Linked DNA regions of Homo sapiens: region 2 is linked to region 1. The links are contacts of gene promoters, found by promoter capture Hi-C in blood cells and fetal thymus (Javierre and others, 2016). All regions are on one chromosome and are shown on one strand. The core of a region is centred on a gene start or on the middle of the fragment in contact, and the rest is flanking DNA. Distances in the headings are between cores, read along the strand shown. Region 1 holds the start of DCLK2 (doublecortin like kinase 2). Region 2 overlaps LRBA (LPS responsive beige-like anchor protein).

What was found. The method cuts DNA at HindIII sites, captures the fragments that hold promoters and counts their contacts. A CHiCAGO score of 5 or more calls a contact.
Region 2: a fragment that was not itself captured here is called in contact with the fragment with the promoter of DCLK2 in region 1 in 1 of 17 cell types (M0 macrophages); the score reaches 5.2 in M0 macrophages.

Annotation. Positions count from the first base shown.
Region 1 is chr4:150,076,742-150,079,788 of GRCh38, forward strand. It overlaps DCLK2 (doublecortin like kinase 2), which reads left to right and starts at 1,704. Exons shown (of 16, transcript NM_001040260.4): 1 at 1,704-2,707. The coding sequence starts at 2,287. The HindIII fragment of the contact is 6,630 bases long and covers 948-3,047 here.
Region 2 is chr4:150,868,232-150,871,209 of GRCh38, forward strand. It overlaps LRBA (LPS responsive beige-like anchor protein), which reads right to left. Exons shown (of 57, transcript NM_001364905.1): 20 at 2,294-2,375; 21 at 1-74. Among named protein-coding and RNA genes, the nearest start is that of LRBA, 150 kb to the right of the region's middle. The HindIII fragment of the contact is 4,699 bases long and covers 1-2,978 here.

The DNA of each region.
Region 1 (3,047 bases), core at 454-2,953:
TTGATGGGCTCTGTGGAGTTACTGGTACTTAGATGGAAACTTATCTCAATAAATTTGCAATTTAGTTTCTTGTTTCTCAAAGTCTTGTACCAAGACCAGCAGCATTGGCATTACCCAGGGGCTCATCAGAAATGCAGAATCTCAAACTCCACCCCAGAGCTACAGAATAGCAATCTGCATTTTAACGAGATTCCCCTATGACATGTAAATATATTAAAGTTTGAGAAGAAGCACTGATTTATTTGATTCCTGGTGTTACAGCCTGTGGTTGGAAACTCTGGATATACCTTAGGGGTACTTTTAAAAAAATACTGTTGGAGAAGCCCGTCTCCAGAAATTCTGATTTAACTGATCTAGGTTGAGGCCTTTTAAGGTGGTGGACCTAATGATGCTGCAGGATTTTCCTCTAGAAAAACTACATTGAAGCCTCAGATCAGCTCTGACTTCCTAGCATGCCCCAACCCCGCAGGAAGTTAGGTATGCCCAGGTGTATGCCCAGAACTGCCTTAGGAGTAGTATTGTGCACCGAGCAGGAGACCTTTCTGGAGCTGCCATGAAGGGTGTGTATGCGTGTGTGTGCGTGTGTTTGGTGGGGCGCACCAACTTCACAGATGCTAGACCGTTGCATGTGCTTCTACCTTCTTTTATTCATGCTCTTCCAGGACTCAGTTCAACCCGAAAAAAAGCAACTATGCCTTTCTTCCTGAAAGGTCAGTTTGGATTGCTGTCTAGGGCTGCTCAGAAAACCAGGTGTTGAATGTTCTAAGGTTTCACGTGCCAAATTGGGATCAAACATATTTGAGCTTTATTTTTCCTAATAACAAAATGCAAGTAACTAGTATTTCTCTTAAGTCTTGGAAAAGATGTTTTTATTGTTGAATAGACACTACGGCATTAAGATTTCCACTATGATGGGTGCTCACAAATGATAGGCCTCTTAGGTAAGAAGCTTTAATTGACAACATTAAATATGCGGGGCGGGGGGAGTGGGTGCAGAGTCTCTCTTTCCTTTGTTAGGGCATCCCAGTGACAGAAACAATGCCTGACACATGGTACGCTCTCGATAAATATTCGTTGATTACATAACCCCCTCTACCACCCAATAACTTCTCATCATTCATTCAAAGTTACTGAACGTACCATATTAGCGAATCTGCAATGGAAACAGTGGAGGCTGTTTTCTCAAAGGATTTTCTAATAAAGCAACAAATCTTTTTTAAAAAAAATGAATGGTGTGCCCCAAGTCAATGCTGGGCTTCGGATTTCTGCGGTAGTTTGGCCTGGGGTCCTCACTGGGATGCTGGCTGGGGATGTGCTCCCTGCCCTTGAATCTCCTTCCTTTGTAGTTTTTGGCCTGCGCGGTTACGTTTCCCAGGCGGAGGAGCGCGCGTCGCGGCTGCGCCCATTAACGCGCGGCGCCGGGCAGGAGCCGTCAGGCGGGCGGGGCTGCCCGGGACCCGCAGGAGCTGCTCCTCCCGCGCCGGCGCTCGGCCCCCTCCTCCGCCCCCTCCTCCGCCCCCTCCTCCCCTTCTCCGCGGTTTGGCATCCCCGGGGCCGGGAAGCCTCCTCCAGCGCTGACAGCCTGTCGGCGGCGGAGGGAGGCCAGAGCGCGGATGCTTGCCAGTGGGCCGGGCCTGACCGCTGCGTGGGAGGCGGGCTGCATTATTTCCCGCTAGGGCCGCGCTCCAGGGAAGGAAGGGGCCAGACACGGCCCTCTCAGCCCCGAACGGCGCGCGCTGCCCGGCGGGCGGGATCCGGGCGCGGCCGAGGCGGCGGCGCTGCACCCCGGGCCTGGGCCCGCGCGACTCCCCCGGGGGCCTCTCCCACGCTCCGCGCCCCGCCCCACCCTTCCTTCCTTCCTCCCCTCGGCGCTCCCGGGAGCGCTCGGCAGACGCCCGAGCTTTGTGGGCGCCCGCGGGCCCAGCGCGAGCCTCGGGCGGCCCAACTTTGCCTCTCCCGGTCGGCTCCCGAGCGGGACTTGTGAGGCGTGGCCGGGTGGAGGAGGCGCTTGCGGGGGCGTGGGGCTCCCCGGCAGGCGGGAGGCACGGAGCAAGTCGCACTGGACAATGACCTGGGCAGCTCGGCGCTGCGGACACTTTTAGCTGAGGGCGCGGGCGGGTCGGCTCCTCCGCGGCTCCTCGGCCCCACCTGCGCGGAGAGGGCGGGATGCCAGAGCCAGGTGTCCCGGCGCGTTAAGGGCCCTCGCAGTCAGACGTCCCTGCACCGGCGCTCGCACCCTTAGTCGGCCCGGAACGTCTTTTTGCGGACGCCCTCGGAGCAGCCGCGATGGCCAGCACCAGGAGTATCGAGCTGGAGCACTTTGAGGAACGGGACAAAAGGCCGCGGCCGGGGTCGCGGAGAGGGGCCCCCAGCTCCTCCGGGGGCAGCAGCAGCTCGGGCCCCAAGGGGAACGGGCTCATCCCCAGTCCGGCGCACAGTGCCCACTGCAGCTTCTACCGCACGCGGACCCTGCAGGCCCTCAGCTCGGAGAAGAAGGCCAAGAAGGCGCGCTTCTACCGGAACGGGGACCGCTACTTCAAGGGCCTGGTGTTTGCCATCTCCAGCGACCGCTTCCGGTCCTTCGATGCGCTCCTCATAGAGCTCACCCGCTCCCTGTCGGACAACGTGAACCTGCCCCAGGGTGTCCGCACTATCTACACCATCGACGGCAGCCGGAAGGTCACCAGCCTGGACGAGCTGCTGGAAGGTAGGAGGGGAGGGCGCCGCACGGCAGGTGCGGCGGAGCGCCGGCAGGTGCAGTGGGCGTGAGCCGGCGCAGCGGGGAGCCCGCGGGGTGCTTTCCAAGCCGCACGGGAATTGATGCTTCTGTCTGCTTCTCTAGAGATTGGCTGGGGGTGGGGGCCGGTGGGGTGCCCACATACACACTGACTTTCCTTCCCAAGAGGTTTGTCTCTTAAAGAAGGAAAAAATTTCCTGATGGTCAGGCCAATTTAGGCACTGGTGGCATCTCCTAAGATTGTTGAACTTATTTGTATTGAAGTGCAAACTGTTTGAGAAAATGGTTCTCCCATGGGGAGCTGGGTAAT
Region 2 (2,978 bases), core at 147-2,646, 790 kb after region 1:
GGCTCTGCGAACCTCCATGCTCTCTGGGCACTGGGGAGAATTTCGAAGTAGGGTCGCAATTACTTTTAGTATCTCTGTAAGACAGTTTATAAATAAGTAAAAACCAAACTCAACAAAAAACTCATGATAGAAGGTCATCCATCTATTGCAATTTCTTTAGTTTCCCTAACACAAATGTCTACCAAAAACATCCTCTTCTGTTATTAAAAAAAATCACCTCTGGAAAGAAATGACAATACATTCATTAGAAAGCATTTATAAATATGAAAGGAAATTTCTTTCATGATTCAAATGTGCAAAAATAAAGCTGAACTTTAAAAGGTTAAAATAAAACAAGTTAAATTATAAATGAATTAAATGTCAGTGAAACTGCTTACTCTCTCTGAGATATACCAAATAGTAAAGTTGATCTTAAAAACAAGCAGGCCGGGCGAGGTGGCTCACGCCTGTAATTCCAACATTTTGGGAAGCTGAGGTGGGTGGATCACTTGAGGTCAGGAGTTCGAGAGCGGCCTGGCCAACATGGCAAAACCCCATCTCTACTAAAAATATAAAAATTAGCCAGGTGTGGTGGCGTGTGCCTGTAATCCCAGCTACTCAGGAGGGTGAGACAGGTGAATCGCTTGAACCCAGGAGGCAGAGGCTGCAGTGAGCCAAGATCGTGCCACTGCACCCCAGCCTAAGCGACACAGCAAGACTCTGTCTCAAAAAAAAATAATGAAATAAAATAAAAAATACTATAATCAAAATCTCAGAAAAATATAATAAATTCTTAGATTCCTCATCATAATTTATGGTATGCACACACAGTCTTTCATAGCTGGGATTATAGGCACCTGCCACCACGCCTAGCTAATTTTTGTATTTTTAGTAGAGACAGCGTTTCTCCGTCTTGGTCAGGGTGGTCTTGAACTCCTGACCTCGTGATCCACCTGCCTTGGCGTCCCAAAGTGCTGGGATTACAGGCATGAGCCACCACGGCCGGCCTACCATAGAGAATTTTTAAAGGTGTGAAGATTTTCTTTCATAATCTTAAAAGTAAAATTAGACACAAAAAACCCAAAGGAAATTAAAACCTATTCAACATCCCATCTCCCCAGAAAATGCAAACTAAACTACTATTGTAATGGTCTTAGCATAAAGCTATTTAAATCTCCAGAATTTAGCTTAAATTAGGCCAGGCACAGCGGCTCATGCCTGTAATCCCAGAACTTTGGGAGGCTGAGGCAGTTGGATAATTTGAGGTCAAGAGTTCAAGACCACCCTGGCCAACATGGCGAAATCCCATCTCCACAAAAAATACAAAAATTAGCCAGGCCTGGTAGCAGGCACCTGTAATCCCAGCTACCAGGGAGGCTGAGGCAGGAGAATCACTTGAACCAGGAGGCAGAGGTTACAGTGGCTGAGATCCTGGCACTCTACTCTAGTCTGGGCAACAGAGCACAAGACTCGGTCTCTAAATAAATAAATAATCTCCAGAACTTAGCTTCTTAGCTTAAATTAAAACAAAAAAAAAAATTCTTTTAAAAATATGCACTTAGACCAGGTGCAGTAGGCTCATGCCTGTAATACCAGCACTTTGGGAGGTTGAGGTGGGAAGATTGCTTGAGCCCAGGAGTTTTAGACCAGCCTGGGCAACATAGGCAAAATAATGACATCACGTTTCTCTGAAAGCTGAGGAAAATTAAACCTCAAAGCCACGTGCTTTGAAAATTAGCACTGGAGTACCAAACACACAAATACACCTAACCACATAAAATGTAATTAAATTTTAAAACTCTACAAACTAATAATTTTAATAACATGATCTTAAAAAGCAAGATGAAAAAGGTATACTTTATACAAGTGCTTAAGAATTCTAAATATCAAAAGAAAAGACTGTTTAACAAGACTATCTTCATAAACAATAAAGAAGACATATTGTTCTATTCCAAATTTGGTATTTTTATATTCACAGTAATTTAAGATAAAACTACCCCAATGGTTCTTGTAATTCTGCCTGACATCACTAAATAGCACAATCAAAATTTTGCTGAAAGTCTGAACATATATTACATCAAGACCTTAAGCAAACAATTCTTCAAAACCTTTATATAAGAATTTCCACATAACTTAAGGTTGATTCGAAGGAATACTCAATATAAAACCCAAACAAAACTAGTATAATATCATCACCCTTAATGAAACATTCATCTAACAATCTGTTTCAACAACATCAATTTTAGGTTGTTCACAGTGACTTTCTTTTTAAGTAGCAAAAGGTAGTTTTTGTTAAAGTATATAAAATACATACGAGGGTTTTGTATCTTCACTGAAGAATCAGGATCTGGATGCTGTTTATGTATCACCTGAGTACCAATCTGTTCTATAAGAATCTACAGAAGTAAAACAATGGATTACATTAGCAAATCACTGGATTAGCATCACTATTAATGAACTTTAAGTGCATCACTATTAATTAACTTTAAGTACAACACTAATCAAAATATAGTATATTTTTAGTCCAATATTGTCATGCTAAATAATATACTTCTAAAATAACTACAGCATTATTACTCTATGTTTTCTTAATTATAAAATGAGACATCAAATAGTTAATAAAATGGAGGGAACATTTAAACAGAAATAACGATACTGTTTAGAAATTCACAGATTAATTATAGATTTCTAAAAATGCAGCCACATCTCCTTATATCATTTCAAAGCTGTACATTACAAACTTAAATGGTCTGGTCAGCATGGTGGCTCATGCCTGTAATCCCAGCACTTTGGGAGGCTGAAGTGGGTAGATCGCCTGAGGTCAGGAGTTCGAGACCAGCCTAGCCAACACAGCAAAACCCGTCACTACTAAAAATACAAAAATTAGCCGGGTTAGGTGGTGTGCACCTGTAATCCCAGCTACTGGGGAGGCTGAGACAGGAGAATCACTTGAACCCGGGAGGTGGAGGTTGCAGTGAGCCAAGACTGTACCACTGCAC